7 separate regions of the Homo sapiens genome follow, and regions 1, 2, 3, 4, 6 and 7 are each linked to region 5. Evidence: promoter capture Hi-C in 16 types of primary human blood cells and fetal thymus (Javierre and others, 2016). All regions are on one chromosome and are shown on one strand. Each heading gives the region's core, a stretch centred on a gene start or on the middle of the fragment in contact. The rest is flanking DNA. Distances are from core to core; before and after follow the strand shown.

Region 1 (3,958 bases), core at 549-3,048, 300 kb after region 5:
TTAAACATTTCCCGGTCGGCTGTGTTCCGGCTTCTGCTCCTCCACGCCATTGAATCTGCTCTTGCCAAGCTCGCCATTGGCCCCTTTACTGCACAGTTGAATGGATACTTTTCAGGGCTGACCTGACCCCTTTGTGGCTTCTTATATCGTCCAGCCCATCCTTGGGCTTTGGTGACATTTCCTTCTGCTTCTCTGGCTGCTCTTTTGTAGTCCCCTTTGTAGGTTCCTCTTTTTCTGTTGATCCCTTAAATGTAGGTTATCCCCAGGGTTTTGTCTTCTGCCCTTTCAAAAACTGATTATTTTTTGAATTTATTTTATTTTATTTTGTTTATTTATTTTTTTTGAGCTGTAGTTTCGCTCTTGTTGCCCAGGCTGGAGTGCAATGGCGCTATCTCAGCTCACTGCATCCTCCATCTCCCGGGTTCAAGGGATTCTCCTGCCTCAGCCTCCCATGTAGCTGGGATAACAGGCACACACCACCACGCCCGGCTAATTTTTTGTATCTTTAGTAGAGACGGGGTTTCACCATGTTGGCCGGGCTGGTCTCGAACTTCTGACCTCAGGTGATCCACTCGCCTCGGCCTCCCAAAGTGCTGGGATTACAGACGTGAGCCACTGCGCCCGGCCTTTTGAATTTTATAATTTGTTCATATTAATTAAATTTTAAGGCATTTTAAAATTTAACAATAAAATTGTTAAATCTTTTAAAATTATTTATTTAGTTTTTGAGACAGGGTCTCACTCTGTCACCCAGGCTGGAGTGCAGTGGCGTGATCACAGCTCACTGTAGCCTTGACCTCCTGGCTCAAGCAGTCCTCCTGCCTTAGCCTCCTGAGTAGCTGGGACTACGGGTGCACACCACCATGCCCAGCTAATTTTTTTGATTTTTAGTAGAGACAAGGTCTGCCATGTTGCCCAGGCTGGTCCCAAACTGCTGGACTCAAGGGATCCCCCCACCTCGGCCTCCCAAAGTGTTGGGATTACAGGTGTGAGCCACTGCGCCCAGCCCTATTTTTTCAGTTGAGGTTAAAATATAAAATTTACCATCTTTATCTTTTTTTTTTTTTTTTTTTGAGACAGAGTCTCACTCTGTCACCTAGACTGGAGTGCAGTGGCACCATCTCGGCTCACTGTAACCTCTGCCTCTCGAGTTCGAGCAGTTCTCCTGCCTCAGCTTTCGACGTAGCTGGGATTACAGGCATCTACCACAACGCCCAGCTAATTTTTGTATCTTTAGTAGAGATGGGGTTTTGCCATGTTGGTCAGGCTGGTCTCAAACTCGTGACTTCAGGTGATCCCCCCACCTCGGCCTCCCAAAGTGCTGGGATTACAGGTGTGAGCCACCGCGCCTGGCTCATCTTTATCATTTTTAAGTGTACTGATCAGTGGTAAAAACTACATTTATATTACATTTTCCTCCGTCTCTTCTCTACCCTTCCCTTCTGCCCTTTTTTGGGTTGACGTTGCAGATTCTCTATAAACTCATCTACTCCCAGTGTTTCAGTTGCTATCAGTATGCTGAATACTTACAAAGCTACATTTTCTGGCCTGCTTTTCTGAGTTTCAATCAATTTTTCCTCTTAGCTACTAGATTTATTTTTCTTTTTTAGAGACAGTCTCACTCTGTTGCCCGGGCTGTAGTGCAGTGGTAAAATCATAGCCTACTGCAACCTTAAACTTGCGGGCTCAAGTGTTCCTTCTGCCTCAGCCTCCTGAGTAGCTGGGACTATAGGCACACTGCACCATGCCTGGCTAATTTGTTTTGTTTTTTTGGAATAGGGTCTTGCTCTGTCACCCAGGGTGGAGTCCAGTGGTGCGATCACCACTCACTGTATCCTCGACATCTCGGGCTCAAGCATCCTCCCATCTTAGCCTCTCAAGTAGCTGGGACCACAGGCACACGCCACCATGCCTGGCTAATTTTTGTATTTTACTGTAGAGACGGGATCTCACCATGTTGCCTGGGCTGGTCTGGAACTCCTGGGCTCAAGTGATCCATCTGCCTCTGTCTTCCAAAGTGCTGGGATTACAGGCTTGATCCACCATGCCTGGCCTAATTTTTAAAGTTTTTTGTAGAGACAGGGGTCTCACTCTGTTGCCCAGGCTAGTCTCAAGCTCTGGGCTCACGTGATCCTCCTGCTATGGCCTTGCAAAGCCCTAGGATTACAGGTGTGAACAACTGTGCCCTCCCCAATACCTTCATTTGGATGTGCCATAGGCTCTTCAAATTCAACGCATTGAAAATGGCCCATTCTTTTCTTCCTATATTCTCTTTTTATTTTGAGACAGAGTCTTACTCTGTTGTTCAGGCTGGAGTGTAGCGGCATGATCATGGCTAACTACAGTCTTGACCTCCTGGGTTCAAGCAATCCTCCTACCTATCTCCCGAGTAGCTGGGACTACAGGCATGTGCCACCACACCTGGCTAACTTTTGTGTTTTTGGTAGAGATGGAGTCTCTGCTGTGTTGCCTGGGCTGGTCTTGAACTCCTAGGCTCAAGTGATCTTCCTGCCTTCGCCTCTAAAAGTGTTGGGATTACAGGCATGAGCCACTGTGCCCAGTCTCTCTTCTCTTTTTCAGTGACTAGTACACCACGCTTACCTATGCAAGCTAGAAAACTGAATTTATTCAAGTCTTCTCAGGTTTACCTTCTTCTTAACTCATAGTCTTTTCATTTCTACTCCTGTTGCCATAGGTTGGAGCCATCTGATTTCTTTGCTGGACAAAGACTTTTAAATGGAGTTTATTGCCTTTAGCCTATCATTCCCCCAGTGTGTCCTTTAGCAGGTGCATAGATGGAAGGATTTACACTTACTCAACAAGTATTTATTGAGCCACATATCTTGTCTGAGAGTTTGTGATACAAATTTGAATGGATCATGGGGGAAGCAGGGAGCCAATCAACATATAATCATACAACTTTTTTTTTTTTTTTTTTTTTTTTGAGACAGTCTTGCTCTGTTGCCAGGCTGGAGTGCAGTGGTACGATCTCGGCTCACTGCAACCTCTGCCTCCTGGGTTCAATTGATTCTCCTGCCTCAGCCTCCTGAGTAACTGGGACGCCACCACGCCCGGCTAATTTTTGTATTTTTAGTAGACATGGGGTTTCACCATGTCAGCCAGGATGGTCTCGATCTCTCGACCTCGTGATCCGCCTGCCTTGGCCTCCCAAAGTGCTGGGATTACAGGCTGAGCCGCCGCGCCCGGCCCAACGTATAATTATACGACTTTAAATGAGTTGATATCTGTAAGGTGCATGAACCATGCATGGCACATATAAATGCTTGTTAAAATATGGAAAGTATACAGATAACCACAGGGTGGTATAGGAGTCAAGGGTGTTATGGGGAAGGAGGGATAACTGAGTGAAATAATTGTTTCATGATTAATTAGGACAAAGCCAGGAGGAAAACAGGTAGCCAAGTCCTTGTGCTTTGTTTCTCTTTCCTGAAGATGTTTGATACTGTCAGACTCATGTGCTGAGTTCTTACTCTGATTTGGGCACTGAGTCTCTGTGGAGTGGTAACAAGCTGTCTGGTGGGTCTGGGCTTGCTTCGGGCTTTGATTTCTTCACCAAATCTTAAAATTGAGGGGGCAGTCAGATTGGAGGATCTCCCAAATCCTTCAATTTATAAAAGTGTTTGATCCTAGGATAAGATGATCAATGGAATATTAGGGGCTGGATCTTCCAAGCGAGACAAGGCTTTTCATGGATCTCAGGGAGGAAATTTTAAATGTTGGGAAATAATTCTGCCTTTTTAAAATTTGGTACACTCCTGTTTCCCTGCAGTTCTTATTTGTTACATGCACAACAAAATCCACTCCGCCAAGATGTCTCCTTTATCGATAGTTACAGCCCTGGTGGATAAGATTGGTAAGTGATATCATTTTCTATGCATACTTAGAATTCTTAGTAATTTCAAGATATTATTGAGATTACAGGACGTACTCTCCTTTT
Region 2 (3,931 bases), core at 663-3,162, 330 kb after region 5:
GGCGGATGGATCATGAGGTCAGGAGTTCAAGACCAGCCTGGCCGAGATGGTGAAACCCCGTTTCTACTAAAAATACAAAAATTAGCCGGGCGTGGTGGCGGACGCCTGTAATCCCAGCTACTCGGGAGGCTGAGGCAGAGAACTGCTTGAACCTGGGAGGCAGAGGTTGCAGTGAGCTGTGATCATGCCACTGCACTCCAGCCTGGGTGACAGAACGAGACTCCATCTCAAAAAAAAAAAAAAAAAAAAATCTGTAGCCAAGACCGTTCCTTTTTTGACAGGAAGGTAACTTAGAAGAAAAAATAATCTCTGAAAAAAGTCCTCCCAAGAAGGAAGCAATATTTATTGTGGGTTCTACATTAGTGTTCACAAACTTGGCTCTGCCTCAGAATTAGGTGGAAAGTATTTTTGTGTGTGTGTGTGTGTGTGAGACAGAGTTTCACTCTGTCGCTCCAGCTGGAGTGCAGTGGCATGATCTTGGCTCACTGCAACCTCTACCTCCCGGGTTCAAGCGATTCTCCTGCCTCAGCCTCCTGAGTAGCTAGGATTACAGGTGTCAGCCCCCATGCCTGGCTAGTTTTTGTATTTTTAGTAGAAAGGCGGTTTCACCATGTTGGCCAGCTGGTCTCAAATTCCTGACCTCAGGTGATCCACCTACCTTGGCCTCCCAAAGTGCTGGGATTATAGGCATGAGCCACTGCACCCGGCCGGTGGAAAGCATTTTTAACAAAAAATTTTTAGGCCAGGCACAGTGGTGGCTCATGCCTGTAATCCCAGCACTTTGGGAGACTGAGATGGGAGGATCGCTTGAGACCAGCCTGGGAAACATAGTGAGACCCTTTCTCTACAAAAAGTTAAAAAATTATCTGAGCATGGTGGTGTGCACCTGTAGTCCCAGTTAGGAGGCTGAGGTGAGTGGATTGCTTGAGTCCAGGAGTTTGAGTCTGCAGTGAGCTATGATCATGCCACTGCACTCCAGTCTGGGTGACAGCAAGACCCTGTCTCAAGCAATTTTTTTATATTAGTTTATGTAATGTTTATTGAAATCACAGTGTCAACAAGCACCTCTGGCATGAAATAGTCACAGGAGCGAACACAACTATCTCTTGGAAGCATGCAGTTTGACTCATGGAATCAAGCATGTGCTGTACTATAATAACTTGTCTCTCCATGCCGTAATGCCATCCTGACTGAGATTTACCTGGCCCTTCAATATAGCATTTTGCATATCTACCTATGACATGATGGGAGGTGGCTAATGGGGAGGGATGCGCCCTGGGGAGTTTTGTGAATGTGTTAAGTGGAGTTAAGAGACCTACTGCATGCTATTGTATAGATTATACATTATATATTTAACCATTTGTTGCTGTACAGTGAAGCTTTTTCTAGTATTTCTTTTTTGCTATTATAAACAATGTTGCAGTAAATATCCTAAATACTCTAAAACATTTGACCCTTAAATTATTTTCTTTGGAAAAATATTAAATGAGATATTTAGGTCAAATAGTAGGCACACGTTGAAGGCTTTGAATATGTATTTCATGTAACCCTTCAGAACAGTTTCACACAATCACTTACACATCAGCAATTTCCCTGAACTTTGCCAATTTTTATCTTTTCTTTTTAAAATATCTTTGCCATTTTGATAGGTGAAGAATGACCTTCTGCTGGATGTGGTGGCTCACACCTGTAATCCCAGCACTTTGGGAGGCCAAGGCAGATTGCTTGAGGTCAGGAGTTCAAGACCAGCCTGGGCAACACGGTGAAAACCTGTTTCTACAAAAATACAAAAATTAGCAAGGTGTTGTAGTCTCACCAGTGCGCCAAAATGTAGCAGTCTTTGGTTGTCTGAGATAGTATCCGGAGTTCTTTGTGTCACAGAGCACGAACACAAGGGTGAGGTTGGAGCAAAAGTTTAGTAAGCAAAACAAGAAAGCTCTCGGCTGGATTCGGTGGCTCACACCTGTAATCCCAGCACTTTGGGAGGCCGAGGTCCGGAGTTCAAGACCAGCCTGACCAACATGGAGAAACCCTGTCTTTACTAAAAATACAAAATTAACTGGGCGTGGTGGCACACGCCTGTAGTCCCAGCTACTTGGGAGGCTGAGGCAGGAGAATCGCTTGAAGCCGGGAGGCAGACGTTGCGGTGAGTTGAGGATCGCGCCGTTGCACTTCAGCCTGGGCAACAAGAGCAAAATTCCGTCTCAAAAAAAAAAAAAAAAGCTCTCCGCAGCGGAGAGTGGGGGCCTGAACGGGTTGCCCACTATGAGGTTGGGGTCGGGGGTTTTTGCGGACTGGGAAGGGGAAGGAATTTGCTTAGTCTGTGAGCTGTCTTGGAGAAAGCTAGATTCAGCTTGGCCCGGGACCAATCAGGAGCTGAATTGATGATTCATTGAGACCACTCAGCTTGGCCCGGGACCTATCAGGAGCTGAAGTGAAAGCTTGGCCCGGGGACCAATCGTGCTGAAGTAATTCTTAGAGGCCGGGCTCACAGTCGAAAGAGGAAAGGAAAGTGCCCATCGGAGTCGTCGGAGCCCACAGTATTAATGCCCACGAAAGGAGAAGAAACTTTTTCCCGGGAACCTGCTGATTATACAAAAGACAAAGACATTTCTATGTCAGGTCTTGTTCCCTTATCTGAGTGAGCTGGAGGTTTGTGCAAGTTTTTATCTAAGTGGGCTGGAGGTTCTCGGATCTGTGCAGCCGCGGGCTTGTCTCCAGGCACACCACCACCCTGTGCTACTTCCCTTATCGGTGCCTGCAGCTTGATTTTTATCCCCAGGCTGCTTTCTCTGTTCTGTGGGGATGAGGCACTGACCCGTGGGTTGGGGGCTCTTTGGGGACCCTTCCCTTGCTGTCTACCTAAGGAAAGCTAGCTAACTCCTCTCAGAGTGATGGTGCACACCTGTAGTCCCAGCTACCCAGGAGGCTGAACTGGGAGCATTGCTTGAGTCCAGGAGTTTGAGGCTGTAGTAAGCCAAGATCACGCCACTGCACTCCAGCCTGGGCAACAAGTGAAACCCTGTCCCCCCCCACCCCCCCAAAAAAAGAAAACTGACATTTGTTAATTGCCTTTCTCTGAATTCTACTGAGATTGAAATTAAATTGCTTATTGTTTTTGTTGTCTTTTTGTTAAATTGCTCACGTAATTTTGGATACCAGAATCTTCACCCCAAATCTGTCCTCTACCAATACAGATATAAAAGCTAGAGGTTTTGGTTTTTAATACAGGACTTTTAAGAAGATGAGGTGAAGCAAACTAACGGATATACACTAGGTTCTGGATTATTAGTGTTATGTCCCTCTCAAAGAATAAAGGAGAATTTTTGACCGGGAGCGGTGGCTTACGCCTGTAATCCCAGCACTTTGGGAGGCCGAGGCGGACGGATCACCTGAGGTCAGGAGTTCAAGACCAGCCTGGCCAACATGGTGAAACCCCGTCTCTACTAAAAATACAAAAATTAGCTGGGCATGATGGCAGGTGCCTGTAATCCCAGCTACTCAGGTGGCTGAGGCAGGAAAATCGCTTGAACCTGGGAGGCAGAGATTGCAGTGAGCCGACATGGCGCCATTGCACTCCAGCCTGGGCGACAGAGCGAGACTGCGTCTGAAAAAAAAGTTAAAGGAGAATTTTTACCCAGCACCAGCACTGCTAAGTTCTAGCATACATCTTCCTCATGTGAGTTGGACATTGTTTTATATTAAATAGTCTGTGCTGAGATCCCAGTTTTACTTCAGGCATTTATTACCAAGTTCTTAGTTTTTGCCTCCATGCTTCTTCAATGTGTAGTCTTTGAGGATGCTGTCTTTTTCACTGGTTTCTTTAGGAGAGTTTACTTCATTCTAGTATGCTTTGCACTGTGTTGGGCATGTCCATGTGATTCTGTGGTAACCCAAATCTTCTGTCAACGTGTTCCATCTGATACCTGTG
Region 3 (3,878 bases), core at 1,111-3,610, 460 kb before region 5:
GGATTACAGGTGTGAGCCACCAACCATGTCTAGCCAGTTTTTTTTTTTCTTTAAGAGGAAAAAGGAAGTTCTGGAATAGGGAAGAAGTAGAAGAATTCTGGTGTTAAACTGAAACTGGTAGTATCAGTATGAACTAATAATTTTTTCACAATTATGAGTTTTTGAGGGTAATGAAAGTATACATGTTTAAATTTCCAAGTTGGCAGCCTGTTAGGAGTCACAGGATACGAGCATGTTGTGAGCAGTGAGAGCTGGCTGGCAGGTGTGAGGTGGCCATAGTCAGCTTCTCATCTCTTCTCTAGAAGTTGCAGATCTAGATGGTTTCAGAATTTAAAGGTTTTTCAATTTTAGGAAGGTAAAAAGGAGTCTATACCATACATTGTACAATACAGAGTATTAGAGAGCCACAACATAGCTGCAGTGAAATACGTGAACATTTCCAGTAAGTAGGATAAGGACTATGGAATCAAGTCAGTTCAGGTCTGGTTTTGCCACAAAATGAGTTGTGGCAGCAAATATATGAAAAAGAAATTCAATTTTCAGAGTTTTTTGAGTTCAGGATTCAGAGAAAAGCTTATGGTCCTGCGGGGCGTTGATGACAAAGGTCAGGTGCTGAAGTTCGATGACAAAGGTCAGGGTTTGAATCTTGACTAGAGCATTCACAAGCTTCATGAGCAGGGGTAAGTTTCTTTACACTTCTAAACTTCATTGTAACCACCTATAAAAAAAGAGCAGTATCTACTTCACAGAGATTTGGTGAGGGTTAACATGTGCTTAACATTTAAACCAGAGGCAGTGGCTCACGCCCGTAATCCTAGCTACTTGGGAGGCTGAGATGGGAAGATCATGTGAGGCCAGGAGTTCGAGACCAGCCTGGGCAATGTGGCAAGACCCCCATCTCTATAAATAAAAACTTAATAAACCACAATATTTAACAGTCACATATTCTTAAAACTTAGAAGAGGGGCTAATTAAATAGCAATCACTAATGACGCTGATGATGCTCAAACAGAATAGTCTGAGGCCATGGGATACACAATCGAACTGTCAGTTACTGCTTGGTCAGCCCTGAGAACCCATTCCCTGGGCTCATCTGATGATTCTGCAATAGTTAAAACTCAACTACTAGGCATGGTCTAAGAGAACCAAATTTCAGGAAGCATTTTCTTCAAGCTTCCTTGGATTATCAGCCTGTTATAAAACTCATGTGGAAAGAAACTTTTATCTGTCTCTCTATCCCCCATAGCACATATTATAGTGCCTCGCCTATGGTAGCTTCTCAATGATTTTTTCAAATAATAGATAATGCTTTCAGAAGTTTGTTTTTTTCTTTGTTTGTTGTTGATTTCTTTTTTTTTCTTTTTTTTTTTTTTTTTTGAGACAGAGTCCCACTCTGTTGCCCAGGCTGAAGTGCAGTGGTGTGATCTCGGCTCACTGCAACCTACGCCTCCTGGGTTCAAACGATTCTCCTGCCTCAGCCTCCTGAGTAGCTGGGATTACAGGTGCCCATCACCACGCCCAGCTAATTTTTGTATTTTTAGTAGAGATGAGGTTTCACCATGTTGGACTAGCTGGTCTCCAACTCCTGACCTTAAGTGACCTGCCCGCCTCAGCCTCCCAAAGTGCTGGGATGACAGGCATGAGCCACCACACTCAGTCCAGAAGTTCGTATTTTTTAAAAAGAGTAGTTGGAAAATTTCAGGTTTTGTCTCTTACATTCTACATTAGGTTTAGGGACAAATTCTTTGTACTCAGACACCTTAATTATATATCAGCTTAAATAGGAGGATAAGTCTTTTTTAGTTAATTAGTTAGCCTAAAAATAAGTATGAAATGCCTGATTTTTATAACCTTTCTGTGCTTTCTTCACGTACATTGAAAGTATCTTTCCTATGTATTAATGCCGGATACTCAGTTTAAATGAAAAGGTTCTAACAACCATTTTTTTTTAAATAATAAACTTACCAAGAAAAACATTTTGGTTTTAAATGAATGTCCTCGCCAGAGGGTTCTGTTTTGATAAGTCTTCTGGTATATTGTGTATTTTCCAGTTCTGCTTTCCAATTATTTGACTTCATTTTTTCCCTACTTACTTGGCTTCTCTACATTCCTTAATTTTGACTTTCTATTTTTATTCTGCATTTCTCAATATACTTCATCTTATTCAAATTTACCAATTAAGTTTTTCCCTGGTATCAGTTCAAAGATGACAAAGGGAGCAGGTGAGGGGGCTTGGAAAACTCTGACTTAGTGGATGCAAACAGGTCATTAGACTCAAATACACTCATGTGCATTTCTTCTGTTTTTCTCCTAAGTTTGACGATCCTTTCATTCTCCTTTGTTTCTGGTTTGTTTGTTTGTTTTTGAGACAGAGTCTCTCTCTGTTGCCCAGGCTGGAGTGCAGTGGCGCAATCTTGGCTCACCAAGTGGCGGCAACCTCCACCTCCTGAGTTCAAGCGATTCTCCTGCCTCAGCCTCCTGAGTAGCTGGGATTACAGGCATGCACCACCACACCCGGCTAATTTTTGTATTTTTAGTAGAGACGGGGTTTCACCATGTTGGCCAGGTTGGTCTCGAACTCCTGACCTCAGATGATCCGCCTGCCTCAGCTTCCCAAAGTTCTAGGATTACAGGCGTGAGCCACTGCGCCTGGCCTCTGTTTGTTTTTTATACTTTGTCCTTTTATTGGGAAGCTGGAGACAATTACTATATTTGCAAAAGGTATGATTTGCTTTGTCTAGAAAGGTTCCATATAGCTTCACATTCACCAAGACCTAGGGTGAATAGACACAGAAATATAAATGACTTTCAATGTAATGCAGGGAGCCTTCCCTATGGTGGGACCAGGAGGTAGCCAAGAGCGTTTAGCTAGCCACCTGAGAGCAGGAGCTCACAGACATATTTCTTTATACCTGGTTTACATAGTGGCTGATAACCCTGGCTTCGTTTTAATCCTCTTTTCGACTAATTTACAGGCGGCAGAAAAAATAATTATTTCTTCAATTAATCAAGTCACCTGATAATAAGTGTCTTTTTTTTTTTTTTTTTTTTTTTTTTGAGATGGAGTTTTGCTCTTGTTGCCCAGGCTGGAGTGCAATGGCACAATCTTGGCTCACTGCCACCTCCGCCTCCTAGGTTCAAGTGATTGATAGTAAGTACCTTTTAATTAAAGCAGAGGCTGAGGACATATTTTGTACTGTCTTCAATCAACAGAGACCATGCCTCCTAAAATGTAGAGTCTCCTCTGTCTGGATTACTTGAAGGCTTTCTTTGTCCATTGTTCAGCTTTAGCAGTTGGTGGGGGTTGGGGGGTGGTTTGGGAGTGGCAATAATGAGATAAAGAGCAATACATGGAAAAATTACCCGCAAGGCACCAAAAAACCCCAACAGAATGATCCAGCTCATTCTGATAATTTTTATTAATATCATCAACTAAATGCTTTCGATTAATATCACCAACTAAATGTCTGAGTTGGCAATGTACTTTTCCCATTAGCCATGTTTAAATTGGTAAAATATAACTGAGAACATATTATTTTAAGCTTTTTAAAAAAAATTTTCAACTTTTATTTCAGATACAGGGGGTACATGCGCAGGTTTGTTCCATGTGTATGTTGCACCTAGGCAGTGTGCACAGTACCCAATAGGTAGTTTTTCAACCCGCGCCCACTTCCCCCTCCGTCTAGTAGTTTACAGTGTCTGTTGTCCCCATGTTTATGTCCATGTGTGCAGGTGAGCTCTTCAACTTCTTTTCTCTAGTTGTAGTTATAAGATTTCAATCTGTTGAAAACACTGAATTTTAGAATAAGTCATTAATTTTTTGATTTACTAGGGTTAAACAATGATTAATTGAATAGTCCTTCAGAAGAAACAATCTG
Region 4 (2,782 bases), core at 1-2,500, 350 kb after region 5:
CCACTTCAGTATTTATAGATCTGAATTCTTCAAGTCTGTCGCCAAAAGCGATAATTTCAGTTGGACACACAAATGTGCTGAAAGGTAAAAAAAAAAAAATATTCAGTATTCTCCAAATAAGCATATACCTAAACTTTCAAATGACAATTTTTACAAATACCTTTAATAATAAAAATGCACATTAAGAACAATTTTATATTTGAACCTTTTCAAAATGGAGTAGTCTAAAAGACTGTCATTTAATCAAATATTTAAGACAGAAACATATTACAGAGTTCCCAACTACATCTCAATAAACTTTCTTATTACAACTTAATAGATCAGTAGTCAACCAATGTTCCCTTCTCCCTTATAGCAATAGCCACCCCTCATTTTATTACTTTTATTTAATAATACCTTTTATTTATATAGTATTTTATAGCTTTCAAAGGATCTATACAAATTTTATGTCATTTCACTATTTTTTTTTTAATATTCCTATACCAACCCTATGAATTAGATGCATCTATGTGTATTTTGGAGAGGAGGCAATGTTTTCCAGTACCCCCACCCCTCCTTTCTTGATAAGGTCCTCTTCCACCTTGTCTACCAGTCCTGTGCAGCCAGGGATTTTATACCTTAATACCCTCATGTTGTCAGGCCATGTTTACAGAATATTACTAGGGTGGCATTTTTTCAAACCGTGGTAGGGACTCCTTAAATTAACTGAGTTCTAAAAAATATTTTTAAAAAGTGAAATCGAATAGAAAACAGGAGACTCTATCATACATACTAAGGGTAAATTATGAAACACATATTTATATATACAAATATATATGTTTGTCTTCAACAGTGATGATATTCAAAATATTTAACAATCTTAACTCAAAGCTGGCTTTAGTTCTGGAGGTTTCTGAAAGGGATCAGGCAGGAGGACTAACTAGTTGGTGAGGAAAGGGAAGTGGCTATTTACCACATGATATGAGGGTTTTTCAGTATTTTAAGGAGCATGGCTGTGCTGGTGCATCCAGATGGAATGTTACCGTATATATATGTGCCTGTGTACTGGCTGACAACGAAAAATGTATTTCCTACTGTGAGACATGGTCAAGAAAGTTTGAAAAACATAGACTTAGTTAGGGCACAAGTTCCTACCAGATACCAATACAGGATTTTAACATGTTTCAGGTATTCAGGTACAGCACTGTCATGTCCAAGTAGACAGTTCTAATCTCGGATGATGTCCCTGGAAACCTGGGCTATAAAATGTATTTTTAATATTTTCTAAAGGGTAGGAATGGTCAGCCTCAGCCTTCCTTTTTTTTTTTTTTTGTGGCAGGGTCTCACTCTGTCACCCAGGCTGGAGTGCAGTGGCGCGATCTCAGCTCACTGCAACCTCCGCCTCCCGGGTTCAAGCAATTCTCCTGCCTCAGCCTGCTGAGTAACTGGGACTACAAACGCCCACCACCACGCCCGGGTAATTTTGTTTGTATTTTCAGTAGAGACGGGGTTTCACCTTGTTGGCCAGGCTGGTCTAGAACTCCTGACCTCAGGTGATCCGCCCATGTTGGCCTCCCAAAGTGCTGGGATTACAGGCGTGAGCCACTGCACCCAGCCTCTGCCTTTCTTCTTATTTCAAGGAATGCTACCTAGAGATACATTTGACCAACTTCTTAGTGAAGACAGAAAAAGTTTTGGCAGGAAACTGAAGGGTTACGTTTGTAACTTTCCTCCTTGTAGACTGTGGCAAATGCCCCAGAATTCTTCCTTCTCTAACCAGGCACAGTCCAGCATTACATGAAAACAGGAAGAGGCTATCTTAGCTCCTTGTCCCAGAAGACCATTGCTAACAACATGCTCCAATTAACTATCTCTTACCCATTATGGAGTTATGAATAACAATGGAGAAACACAGAACATATTTTTCTGCTACATTAGACTAACTTCCAAATTCAGGGTGTTAGTCGTATATATTTAACATACATGTTAACCTTCTGGTTTTATAACAACATGAATTTAGAAGGCCTGTCATTTTTTATGTCTACTGAAATTTCTACTTCTGGTTTCTATTAGAAATTAAGCTATACTTAAAAAAATCAAGTCACAATATGAGTTGATTAGAAAGAAGCAAGTTCTTATAATTTAAAAGATTATATATTATGCAGACTCATAACTTTAGTCTCAATGTAATAATTTTCATGAGAATTCTTCCTTTGTGGCTTAGAGCAGGGGTTGGCAAATAGGTCAATAGGCCAAATCCAGCAGAAAAAATTTGTTAATCCCTGGCCTAGAAACAACCTATAGCAATGAGCTTAAGTATACCCTCCCTGCAAGTTTAAATTTGATCTATGTAGTTCCAGATTAGTCCTAATGGAAAAAGGCACAGTGGCAAAGATAGAGGAGGAAACTTCTAGTTATTTGTTGTAACCAAAAAGTAAGTTCCAAGAGAATAAAAGATAAAAATTGACATAACTCTTTTTGGTCTCTTCTCACTTTCATGAATTTTGAAAAACACTCAAAATAGTGTTTTGTAAAATAAAATTAAATCCTCAACGTGAATAAAGCTGTAAGGGTATTTACTTTTAGTCAACTTTCTGACCATATACAAAAACGCTCACTGTCACAGAGTTAAAAAAAGACGAGAAACCCCACAATAACCATAACATATACACAGGTGTTATTCCTTATTCCTTAAGCAGTATATAATATTTTCAGCAAAATGTTCAAATCCCAGAAAAGCAACAGATGCAGCAAAGAATAAAAATGGAAAAACCACAGTTACATGGTATCACTAGAGAAAATG
Region 5 (3,759 bases), core at 559-3,058:
GTGGAAAGATCATGGGGTGGCTGGGTGCGGTTGATCACGCCTGTAATCCCAACACTTTGGGAGGCTGAGGTGGATGGATTACTAGAGGTCAGGAGTTCGAGACCAGCCTGGCCAACATGGGAAAACCCATCTCTACTAAAGTTACAAAATTTAGCTGGGCGTGGTGGTGTGTGCCTGTAGTCCCAGCTACTTGGGAGGCTGAGGCAGGAGAATCACTTGAACCTGGGAGGCAGAGGTTGCAGTGAGCCAATCACGCCACTGCACTCCAGCCTGGATGATAGAGGGAGACTCTGTCTCAAAAAAAAGAAAAAAAAAAAAAGTAAAAAGAAAAGTGATTACCAAGACAACTACCACAGACTGGGAATTTCTGAAAAGCCTCAACTTTTCTTTTCTTTTTTTTTTTTTTGAGACAGCGTCTAGTTCCGTTGTCCAGGCTGGAGTGCAGTGGTGCAATCTCGACTCACTGCAACCTCTGCCTCCTGGGCTCAAGCCATACTCCTACCTCAGCCTCCTGAGTAGCTGGGACCGCAGGCCCGCACCACCATGCCAGCTAATTTTTTGTATTTTTAATAGAGACGGGGTTTCACTATGTTCGTCAGGCTGGTTTCCAACTCCTGACCTCTAATGATCCTTCCGCCTCGGCCTCCCAAAGTGCTGGAATTACAGGCGTGAGCCACCACGCCTGGCCTCAATTTCTTAAAAAGCAAAAACAGGAGGGAGGAGGAGGGTATGCAGTATCCTAAATCCTCAGAACCCCTGGGGAAGAACCTCATTCCAACTCCACCAGCACTCCCAGGCCCAGGCTTCTAGCATGCTTCCGACCTCGCTAGCTGCTAAATAAATAGCTATTGAGGAATGTGTATTCTCAAATACTTAGGCTAGAGGGCTAAGAAAAGACAGCTTCCATCTACCTCTGTGGGACTCTACCAGTGTGAAAGGATACTCTCAAGGTATTTAACAACTCCCATTACAGTCCAGAAATTGGTGGGGAAAGTTAAAATATATTTTCTTTTCTTTTTTTTTTTTGAGACGGTGTTTTTGCTCTGTTGCCTGAGCTGGAGTGCAGTGGCTCACGCTTGTAATCCCAGCACTTTGGGAGGCCAAGGCGGGCGATCATGAGGTCGGGGGTTTGAGACCAGCCTAGCCAACACAGTGAAACCCCGTCTCTACTAAAAATACAAAAGTTAGCTGGGCACGGTGGCGAGCGCCTGTAATCCCAGCTACTCGGGAGGCTGAGGCAGGATAATCGCTTGAACCCGGGAGGCGGAGGTTGCAGTCAGCCGAGATCCACTGCACCCCAGCCTGAGCGACAGACTCCATCTCAGAAAAAAACAAGCAAACAAAAACAAAACAAACAAACAAACAAAAACAAGAAAAGAAAAGTTAGCCGAGCATGGTGGGGCACGTCTGTGGTCCTAGCTATTCGGGAGGCTGAGGTGGAAGGATTGCTTGAGCCCGGGAGGTCAAGGCTGCAGTGAGCTGAGATCATGCCTCTGCCCTCCAGCCTGGCCGAGAGTGAGACTGTCTCAAAAAAAAAATAATAATAATAACATAAAAATAAGAAATAAGAGTGAAAGAGGCATCATTGATTGAAGATAACTTGGGGAGGGGTTCATATAGTAAACGTATAGATTGATTGAAAGACACAGCCCAGTTTTAAAACTACATAAATATCCAAAAAAGCACATTTGAAATTCCACGAGACCTTGCAATGTCAAAATAAGGAGGGACGGGAAGCACGGTGATCACACAATGGCTTATGACATACACTCACTACATTTATACCTGGTACAAAGAGCGCAGAAACGTTTCAACTCTTGCTTGAATCAAGAACAGAAGCCTCTCTTTAGACAGGTCAGTGCCACATAGTAATGTATAGCTTAAAATGTTAGTTAATGTACAAAAATCCAAACTCAGCGTTTAGATGTTCGGGAATAATGCATGAACATTTAAATATTCAGAAGTGGAATGTATGCATTTTTAAAGTTTATTTTATGATTTAATTTTAAAAATTTGTTTTAATGTGAAATTCTGGGGTAATTTGTCATGTAGTAATAGATACAAATATGGCAAGCAGGGATTTTTAAATAATGAACAGAAATATCTTAAAGGAGCTATTGGAAAAGATGGAAAGAAAGTGTGAACAACTTGGGAATTTCAGTGTCTTACAGTTTTTTTAAAGCTTGTTATAGTTTAAATCGGAATAAGGAAGCGTATTTCCAAAAGATTGAAGTGATTGTGTTATCTCTCCCACGAAGTAGTCTACTTCAGCAAAACAGTACACCGTGTGCTATTTTGGCCTCTTGGGAAAGATGGTATGTTCAAGTTTGCTAGAAAGAGATAATTATCGCTTTTAGCGACACCTCTCACGGAAAGTTCATCGGGATATTGGTCTAGAGAGAAAATGGCGGCGGGGGGTGGGGGTGGGGGAAGCCGAAATACCTCAGTTTAGGATCTGCTATGGGCAATGGATGCCCTAATTTAAGGTTAATTGTAGATCCACGGGCTTCCAACTGTGTATTTCCGTCATCTACACTTTTCCCAGAAAGAGATGCCATAATAAATTTACAAAACAGTCCTATAGTCTAGTTTTATATTCTTGTCAAGAAAAGGTAATATTTAAAAAGTACTAGCTAGAATTCTATAAAAAACGAACAACAAAAATCACTGCCCTCTGAATGTTCGTTCTTGATTATTTTGACGCAAGTAGAGACAGCTTTTTTAAATCCGGCATTATCTCCGGGTGGTGCAGACATGCAATTTTTTATGAATTTTCCCACCCTTGGGAAATCGATTTCTGAAACGTGTAATTGTTGTGCAGTAAGCCAAGTGGACAGTGACGCAATAGTCCACTGCAAGTTGCCTTACAAAAAATGATGTCATTTGGCGCAGATCTAGTCACTTTTATAACAGGTAGCTATGGAAAAGCTCCCTCCACGTTGTCCCCGATTCCCCCACCCCCACCGTGGCCAAGATGCAAAAAGACACTTTCCTGGCTTCCTAGCCCTCAACTTGTCGAGGGTGGGCGCACCGCAGTGGCTCAGGGCCCATCGCTCGTGCAGGCGGAGAGAGACCGCTGCAAGGGGACGAGGACAGCTGAGTGTCCTCAGCCCCGACGGCGGCGCCGCGGGGGAAGCTGCGTCGGGCCCAGTCCAGGGCCGCGACGCCCGGCCGCCTGTTTTCCTCGGTGGGAAACCGCTGGCGTGGCGGGCCGGCAGCCGGGACGCGGGGCGCCGCGGGCGCGGGACAGCCTTCCCCGCCCCCCCTTCCCCCCCGTTCCCACACCCGCTCCCGCTCCCGTGGCGCCGGAAGTGACGCGTTTTGGGCTGAAAGATGGCGGCATTGGCGCTCGACCAGGGGGAAGGTAAACACCCGCCAGGCCACGGGCTGGCCCCCTCGGGGCGCCAGCAGGGGCCGAGGGGGGGGCCTCCCGGGCCAGCTCCCCGCCCCCAACGGCTTCCCACCCTCCGCCCTCTCTCCCAGCGTGGCGGCCTTCCGCGTCAAGACGACAGCGCACTGGGCCCCCTGCCGGCCAGCCCCGCCTCCCTGGGCGGGCCCCGGGCGGCTCCCGCGGCCCGCAGGGGGCGCGCGGCCCGGAGCGGCCCCCGGCTCGTGGCCCCGCACGCCCCGCCCCTTCCCCGCCCCTTTCCCGCCTTCCTCCACCCCCGGCGTGGGTGATCCCGAGGCTCGGCGCGCTTCGGGGCAGAAGCCCAGAGACGCCGTCCTCGACGCTTCCTCGGCTGGTGCTTCTGTCTCTGC
Region 6 (4,252 bases), core at 1,022-3,521, 370 kb after region 5:
TGGCCCTTCCTTCTCTAAATGGAACTGGAGGCTTTATGCACCAATCAAGGTATGTTGGGAACTTGATGTAGTCAAGGGTTGAGGACTTAAAGTAGTCAAGCCTTTTCAGTCCTTATGGGCATGGGGACACAAGTCACTTTGGCTCTAAGAAGTCCCAAAGGGCACGGTCAAAAATTTACTTTGGATGTGGGAATAGCTGTCAGATTGGACTATGGACTGATGTGAGTTTACGGGTGGGCCTTTTTGGGTTAATACATAGGCAATATATTATAATTGATACTGCTGAGTGTTTTGTGGAAAGAGTTGTGTTAAGTATATGTAATTCTTCTCTTGATTGTAAGGGCTATTTCCAGTGGGGGAAATGCCATGATAGAGTAGTGGTAGTTGGTCGAATAGGTAACCCAGAGCCTGCCAGCCTTCTCCAACCCAGCCGTGGGGCATAAGTAAAGCAGTATAGGGTTCCATGTTGGGGGCTGGTGAAAGGAGTTCCTTTAGTTGATCAAAAAACCCTGTAGTATTTGATGCTTCCCTGTACCATATCACAAGCTCAATATGGCAACAGTCCTCATTTTTGCTCCACTTGCAGATATCAAAGTGATCACAGAGTTCATTGTTGAGAAAGAATGGCCTGGTTTGTGGTGGTGGACATGCTACTGCTTTCTTCAGCACCCCTGCATTATTTTTTCAGAGGCTTTTTGGCTTCATAGATTATAATATATGTTCACCTGCTGCCTCATAATAACCAAAACATTGTGATTTCTCATCAGTGGATAGGATGAAACCTACAAAAGACTGAAATCTAACCGGAGCTGTCCTGGTGTCTTTAAATGATGACATTATTCTGATTGTAAGGGCTATGGACACAGTATTGTCTGTGTTTAATAGTCCAATATCTGAGTGACCAGCACTGGAAGATTAATCCTGACAAGAATCAACAGCCAGTCATTTAGCTATAGTTCTGGTGAACCATGTGGGTTGGTGCCCAGAGTATAATCTTTGAGCCTGTTCAGGAAAAACTGATGGTCTTAAAACTGCCCTAAAACCAAATTTGGCACAGAACATTATAAGCTTGTTTAGTATTGGATATATTTCATGCACATAACATAGAGATTCTGTCAGCTCATTACATAAGATTGCTTGAAAGGCATTCAGCTTGACCAACAGCCTGCCTTAGAAACTCTCCAACAAGTTGTCTAGATCACCTTGCCACTGAGGCAAGTCACCCAGAGGCATTTTGAAAGAAAGTGTCAGTAACTGCTATTAATGCAGACAAAAACTTACAGCAAAAGACGTGGCTCTTTCGTTAAAGGTAATAGCACATTTTGGGATTCATTTGTGGTCCTTGTCTGAAACTATCACTTGATATATGTCACTTTAGAGGCTTTTGATGGCTTGTTAGTTGGTGTTGGTGGACATCAACAGAGTAACAAGACAAGAGCAGGTCTTGATACACCCTGAATTCTTTATTATGGGATGAATCCCAAATGAGAATGCTATTAAAGTGAGTTTTGGCTAAGAAACATTCATTTTAAAGGGAAAAGGGTATTTCTAGAGAAGAAGTACATCAGATAGTAAAGGTATCTTGGAGGTGTAGGAAAAAGTGTCCAGTCACCCTCTAGCTGTGGCTGTGTCAGATGCAGGGACTGTGCCACCTTGTTGTTCCTGGTGGCTTTGGTGCATCCAGGTTCCTGAGTGTTCCTGAGTCTTGTTCATGGATGCATCCACTAAGTTGAAGGCAGATGGGGTGTAGTAGGCTGCAGAAATTGTACATTCTGTACACAACCTGCTTGCTTCTGTGCATGAAAAGGAAATTCTGATGTATTGGTTTAGATATAGGCTGCAGTGCTTGCCTTAGAAATGGCCCCCCAATTCACCTTGTTATATTTTGAATCACTCCTGGGAAGGTGCCCATGGGCTGACAGTGTGGACTAATGCCTGGCAGGGGGCCGACTATATGATCAAGTCTCAGCCTCAGAGGTGGCAGCTATAATCAGGTAATTGCATAAAATACATACTTCCTATTTATGCCCCATGTAAATCCTTGTGGATAAAATCCATTTGGGGATGAAAATTAGTGGAATTAATAAGCTCATCAGACATGTCCTGCCCATGTTGAGATAATGGCTACCTTGATAGACTATGTAACAAGGCATGGTAGTCCATCTGCAATGCAGGATCTGGCCCCAAATTAAGACTTACTGTTTCCAGCATATGAGACCAAGGGAGTCTGGCAAATGTGTCCAGGGTGCCAGCTGTCTAGTCGAGTAGAAAGATCTCTGGATCCCACATGCAGATAGTTCAGACCTGGCGCTGTACCCTTTCTCAAGGTTACCACTGTTCATGGGCTGCAGTAGATCCCTTTTCTGTGTATGGCCTTGTCAATCCTGTGCACACAGCAGATGTGGAATTCTTTGAAATAACTGTTAGTTGGACTGGTTTAATATTTGGATTCACCAACCACATGCAGTTACACATTGGTGCAACCTTTACAGCAAACAGTACTCCCTGCAATGAACTATTTAATTCACATACTATCCCCAGACAGCAGGTGCCATTGAAAAATGACTCAAATTCTCAAAGAAAATGGGTCATTACACATTACATACATATATCAAAATATCGCATGTACCCTCAAACTATGTACAACTGTTATATATTGATAAAAAATAAAACAACAACAAAAAACCTTAGCAGAGGGGATGGTTCCAAGATGGCTGAATAGAAACAGCTCCATTCTACGGCTCCCAGCGTGAGCGACACAGAAGACGGGTGATTTCTGCATTTCCAGCTGAGGTACTGGGTTCATCTCACTGGAGCTCATTGGACAGTGGGGGCAGGAAAGTGGGTGCAGCCCACCGAGTGTCAGCCGAAGCTGGGCGAGGCAGGAAGCGCAAGGGGTCAGGGAATTCCCTTTCCTAGAAAAGGCAAGGGGTGACAGATGGCACCTGGAAAATCGGGTCACTCCCACCCTAATACTGCGCTTTTCCAACAGTCTTAGCAAACGGCACACCAGGAGATTATATCCCACGGATGGCTTGGAGGGTCCCAAGCCCACGGAGCCTCGCTCATTGCTAGCACAGCAGTCTGAGATTGAACTGCAAGGCGGCAGCGAGGCTGGGGGAGGGGCGCCCACCATTGCTGAGGTTTGAGTAGGTAAACAAAGCTGCTGGGAAGCTCGAACTGGGTGGAGCCCACTGCAGCTCAAGGAGGCCTGCCTGCCTCTGTAGACCCCACCTCTGGGGGCAGGGCATAGCGAAACAAAAGGCAGCAGAAATCTCTGCAAACTTAAATGTCCCTGTCTGACCACTTTGAAGACAGTATTGATTCTCCTAGCACAGAGTTTGAGATCTGGGAACAGACAGACTGCCTCCTCAAGTGGGTCCCTGACCTTCGAGTAGCCTAACTGGGAGGCACCCCCCAGTAGGGGCAGACTGACACCTCACATGGCCGGGAACCCCTCTGAGACGAAGCTTCCAGAGGAAAGATCAGGCAGAAACATTTGCTGTTCAGCAATATTCGCTGTTCTGCAGCCTCTGCTGCTGATACCCAGGCAAACAGGGTCTGGAGTGGACCTCCAGCAAACTCCAACAGACCTGCAGCTGAGGGTCCTGACTGTTAGAAGGAAAACTAACAAACAGAAAGGACATCCACACCAAAACCCCATCTGTACGTCACCATCATCGAAGACCAAAGGTAGATAAAACCACAAAGATGGGGAAAAAACAGAACAGAAAAGCTGAAAGTTCTAAAAATCAGAGCACTTCTCCCCCTCCAAAGGAATGCAGCTCCTCACCAGCAACGGAACAAAGCTAGACAGAGAATGACTTTGACGAGTTGAGAGAAGAAGGCTTCAGACGATCAAACTTCTCCGAGCTAAAGGAGAAAGTTCGAACCCAACGCAAAGAAGTTAAAAACCTTGAAAAAAGATTAGACGAATGGGTAACTAGAATAACCAGTGCAGAGAAGTCCTTAAATGACCTGATTGAGCTGAAAACCATGGCACGAGAACTACGTGATGAATGCACAAGCTTCAGTAGCCAATTTGATCAACTGGAAGAAAGGGTATCAGTGCTGGAAGATCAAATGAATGAAATGAAGTGAGAACAGAAGTTTAGAGAAAAAAGAGTAAAAAGAAACGAACAAAGCCTCCAAGAAATATGGGACTATGTGAAAAGACCAAATCTACGTCTGATTGGTGTACCTGAAAGTGACGGGGAGAATGGAACCAAGTTGGAAAACACTCTGCAGGATA
Region 7 (3,788 bases), core at 968-3,467, 400 kb after region 5:
TAGCTGGGTCTGCAGGTGCCCGCCACCACGCCCGGCTAATTTTTTGTATTTTTAGTAGAGACAGGGTTTCACTATGTTAGCCAGGATGGTCTCGATCTCCTGACCTCGTGATCCGCCCGCCTCGGCCTCCCAGAGTGCTGGGATTACAGGCGTGAGCCACCGCGCCCAGCCAGTTTCTGCATTTTTACTCCATTTTCCTGTTGTAATGTGACACTTCAGGGTACTAGGTGATTTCTTTTGTAATTTTAAAGGTCCCTTAGAAAGTAATAGAAAAATATATTTGTGGATGGTTGAAAGGTCGCAGTGTGTCGTTATCTCTGGCATTGTGCTATCAAATAGTGACAATGTGGATGACTCTCCTGCAGTCCTTAATATGACTTCTAGGTTGTCATATAACTTTGGAGCATAGTCAAATTGGACTTTGATCACTGTTTCTTCATTCAAGTCCTGTTGAACTGATGTGAATAAAGTCTAACAAAAAGAAAGCAACTTCATTCTTTTTCCTATGAAAACCACGTTGCCTACCTGTTCTTCTCATGTCTGGGAAAAAAGCCCAGGATGTTCTCATAGCTTTTCTGGTTACTGTCATAAAGCTGAATGTCCTGTGGCTACTTCCATCTTGTAAGAAGCTTATTCTAGTGTAATAATCAATACATCATTTCCTGAATCTTGGGCAAGATCTTCTACTCCCAGATGAGGCTTGCTTGAGTATTGGAATCCTGCGGGTGACGTGCATATATGGGTTGGGAGTGGAAATGGCACCCATTTTTTGGCCTTTATTTTCTCCATCTATACCCCAGTTGAGTATTTGCTTATTTTTATCCCCCTGATGAGACCTTGAGAGAGCAAGAGAAGGGCTCAGGGAGAAAATCACACTCTTGCATGATTCGCTTTGTAATGCAGGTATGGGGTTCTGAGATAAGAAATCCTGAGTGGAAGATCTCATGGGGACTTCAGACATCATGCCCCTGCCCGATGCGGGGCCTTTCTTCTGATTGGTCACTTAAACTGCATGCCCCCCCCACCCCATAGTTCCTTGGCCTTTTGTGGTATCTACCAGTACTGAGCTCTTTTTGTACCTCCATGTGGTTCTCTTGGCTGATATTCCTTTAAAGGTATTCTCAGGCTCTTTTCTTCCCCCAGGTCCACAAATGGATTCTGGAAATCAAGTATTTTTCTTTTGTAAATGGTAGAATTGCTGTTCACTTACCAGGCAAGCTTTTGCTGTGCTCCAGGGGCACCCCCAGTCTCAGCTTTCTGTTTTTCCTTGTACAAGTCAGTTGCTAGTTCCTGTGTCCCTCAACCTTTATGGGCATCAGTCAACTTGTCTGAATCTCATTGTCAGTGGTTTACATCAAGTGAGAAGCAATCATTGTTCCTCTCTTACAAATGTGGAGAAAATGCCCACCATACCAACAACTCTTTCTAAGAATTCTTTTCTCTCTCTACCTCAAATATTATGTGTGTGTGTTGATTAGAAGTTGAAATTCAAGGTATTGGCTGGGTTTATTTTTTCTGAGGGCTGTGAGGGAACAATCTGGTCCAGCCATCTCATTTTGGCTTGTAGATGGCTGTCTTCATGTTCAAATGGCATTCTCCTGTATTTGTGTCTATGTCTAAATCTCCTCTTATAAGGACACTATTCATATTAGAATAGGACCACTATAAGAACTTTATTTTATCTTTATTAGTATTGTAACCCCCCGGTTTCCAAATAAATTTGTGCTTTGAAATACTAGATGTTAGGTATTCAACATCTGAATTTTTGAAATACATGATTCAATCAATAACAGAGCATCTGAAAAATCTCTTAAATGAGAGGGCTTGTGTTCAACCTCCTATTTAAGGTAGGCTTTCAGGAATGTTTTTCCTCTGCCTGGCCACTAGATGTGCCCTAGCCCCTGGGAACTTTTGGCCCACTTTTCTGTAGGGCTTCCTCTTTTATTTCCAAGGGTTCTTCTTGGGTACTTTAGTTTTAATACAGTTTGAAGCCATTCAATATTGTAGCCTCCACATGTGACACTGGAAATTACAGCCTTTTCTTCTGCATATGGCAAAAGTGCAGTTTGCTCTCAAGCCAGCTTCTTATTGTATCTTCTGGCAGAGAAGCTTAAACTCCAGGTTCTTGACTTCGCTTATATGAACTTATTACTAACCCTTGTGTTTCAACACTCCAGGGGTGTAAGACAAGGCTTCAGATGCTCTTTGCCATTTGTTTGAAGCAAGGAGGAAGTTCTTTTCATCCTTTCCTCTTGATGGTGGAGAAAATCCCATCACACTCCCTTTCTTATTGTCCATATTTCCACATGGAGAACATAAGCTTTTCTTCTACAGGAGATAGAAGTCACTACCCAATGAGCCCCCTTTTGTAAATTCTGGAAAGGATAGATACAGCCTCAGATTTTTTTTCTAATGAGTCAGACACTAATCTCATATTCCTATAACTTAGGGCTGTGAGTGAAGTTTACTGATGCTGTTTCACTAGTGTCATTCAAACCATCCCTCTTCCCCTCTTTCATCGTGGTGCGTCTCCAGTTATACAACTTAGAGTTCTATAGAGTAACACATGGTGGGTAATGGACAGCATCAGCTTCCACCATGAATGGGAAGATATTTTGACTTACAGATGTTCCAGGAGGAGGAACTCCCAGGTGTTATCCATGTGTAGGGCACTGCATCTACATTTTGTCCTGGTCACCCTACAGATACCCATATAGGCCACATAGGGCAGAGCTTGAGCATGGTTTATCTAAATGTGGCAGAATGCCTTGCAGTCTTCTCAGAATGCAAGAGGATAGGAAGCTTGTGAGGTATTGCTCTGAGGCCATCTTCCACTCACCTACGTATCCTCCTTGAAAAGTTTTTATGAGGCAGTTTTTCATCTTCTCCGTGGTCTTTTGGGATGGGGGCTTTGTGCTGCCCATCCACCACCAGAATAGTGCTGCAGAATAGAAAACACCTTAATGTTCACAACACTGGTACTCATAAACAGACCACATTGATAAATTATTTGATGATAAGGGCCATGTGATCTTTCACCTTTGTCTCTGAGACACGTGCTGTCTTGAGTTGATAGTTCATGTTAGACATAAATCTAAGAAATGCAATTCCTCTTTGTTGAGTATCCATCTGTGTTACTGGGAAATTGAAACAGTTTTCCCCTGGCCATTACCTATGACCACAAGGAAAACAGTAGCTGCTGGTAGAGTGCAGTCACTTATATAGAGATATTCTGAAGTCTACTTCTACAATGAACAGAATGGAAGGAACATGAAGGATAGGTTTGAGTAAAAGCCCGATGAGTCTATAGAGGTTTCCTCCTCCACAAACAGATGAGGGAGCACTGGCAGTCGTGTTGGAGGGAGTGAGCGGAGATCATTGTTTTGCCTAATCACCTACCCAGTGTTGTAAGGAGATCACCATTTTGCCTAAAAATCTACCTGATGTTTTAAGCCTGCCTGGCCATGACTACATTGCTGATGATATGAGGGAGACCAAGAAGACCTAGAAAACCTTGCTAATGTCTGTGCTGTTTGGAATGTTGTTGATCTAACACCTTCAACACCACATTTCTACCCAGACTTCTCCTCTTTCAAGAGGAAATAGCCGGGTGCGGTGGCTCACACTTGTAATCCCAGCACTTTGGGAGGCCGAGGCGGGCAAATTGCTTGAGGTCAGGAGTTCGAGACCAGCCTCGCTAACATGGTGAAATCCCATCTTTACTAAAAATACAAAAATTAGCCGAGTGTGGTGGCACATGCCTGCAATCCCAGCTACTCGCAAGGCTG

What was found. Contacts are between HindIII fragments. The CHiCAGO score rates a contact against its expected background, and 5 or more counts as called.
Region 1: a fragment that was not itself captured here is called in contact with the fragment with the promoter of KLHL15 in region 5 in 16 of 17 cell types (neutrophils, monocytes, activated CD4 T cells and 13 more); the score reaches 16.9 in neutrophils.
Region 2: a fragment that was not itself captured here is called in contact with the fragment with the promoter of KLHL15 in region 5 in 16 of 17 cell types (M0 macrophages, naive B cells, total B cells and 13 more); the score reaches 13.2 in M0 macrophages.
Region 3: a contact is called between a fragment that was not itself captured here and the fragment with the promoter of KLHL15 in region 5, in 1 of 17 cell types (non-activated CD4 T cells). The highest score is 6.7, in non-activated CD4 T cells.
Region 4: a fragment that was not itself captured here is called in contact with the fragment with the promoter of KLHL15 in region 5 in 14 of 17 cell types (naive B cells, naive CD8 T cells, non-activated CD4 T cells and 11 more); the score reaches 14.0 in naive B cells.
Region 6: a contact is called between a fragment that was not itself captured here and the fragment with the promoter of KLHL15 in region 5, in 3 of 17 cell types (total B cells, activated CD4 T cells and neutrophils). The highest score is 6.3, in total B cells.
Region 7: a fragment that was not itself captured here is called in contact with the fragment with the promoter of KLHL15 in region 5 in 1 of 17 cell types (total B cells); the score reaches 5.8 in total B cells.

Annotation. Positions count from the first base shown.
Region 1 is chrX:23,722,586-23,726,543 of GRCh38, reverse strand. It overlaps ACOT9 (acyl-CoA thioesterase 9), which reads left to right. Exons shown (of 16, transcript NM_001037171.2): 7 at 3,791-3,874. Among named protein-coding and RNA genes, the nearest start is that of ACOT9, 19 kb to the left of the region's middle. The HindIII fragment of the contact is 5,864 bases long and covers 1-3,958 here.
Region 2 is chrX:23,698,570-23,702,500 of GRCh38, reverse strand. ACOT9 (acyl-CoA thioesterase 9) reads left to right here. Exons shown (of 16, transcript NM_001037171.2): 16 at 1-1,446. Among named protein-coding and RNA genes, the nearest start is that of PRDX4, 33 kb to the right of the region's middle. The HindIII fragment of the contact is 1,062 bases long and covers 1,382-2,443 here.
Region 3 is chrX:24,487,184-24,491,061 of GRCh38, reverse strand. All of the region lies in intron 1 of PDK3 (pyruvate dehydrogenase kinase 3), which reads right to left. Among named protein-coding and RNA genes, the nearest start is that of PDK3, 24 kb to the right of the region's middle. The HindIII fragment of the contact is 2,369 bases long and covers 1,176-3,544 here.
Region 4 is chrX:23,672,285-23,675,066 of GRCh38, reverse strand. PRDX4 (peroxiredoxin 4) reads right to left here. Exons shown (of 7, transcript NM_006406.2): 3 at 1-77. Among named protein-coding and RNA genes, the nearest start is that of PRDX4, 6.2 kb to the right of the region's middle. The HindIII fragment of the contact is 4,829 bases long and covers 1-2,782 here.
Region 5 is chrX:24,025,235-24,028,993 of GRCh38, reverse strand. KLHL15 (kelch like family member 15) reads left to right here and starts at 1,808. Exons shown (of 4, transcript NM_030624.3): 1 at 1,808-1,854. RefSeq lists enhancers at 729-1,228, 2,436-2,939, 2,940-3,444 and silencers at 3,107-3,206, 3,217-3,656, 3,737-3,759. The HindIII fragment of the contact is 3,234 bases long and covers 1-2,184 here.
Region 6 is chrX:23,650,277-23,654,528 of GRCh38, reverse strand. No RefSeq gene overlaps it. Among named protein-coding and RNA genes, the nearest start is that of PRDX4, 15 kb to the left of the region's middle. The HindIII fragment of the contact is 2,402 bases long and covers 1,071-3,472 here.
Region 7 is chrX:23,624,961-23,628,748 of GRCh38, reverse strand. No RefSeq gene overlaps it. Among named protein-coding and RNA genes, the nearest start is that of PRDX4, 41 kb to the left of the region's middle. The HindIII fragment of the contact is 211 bases long and covers 2,112-2,322 here.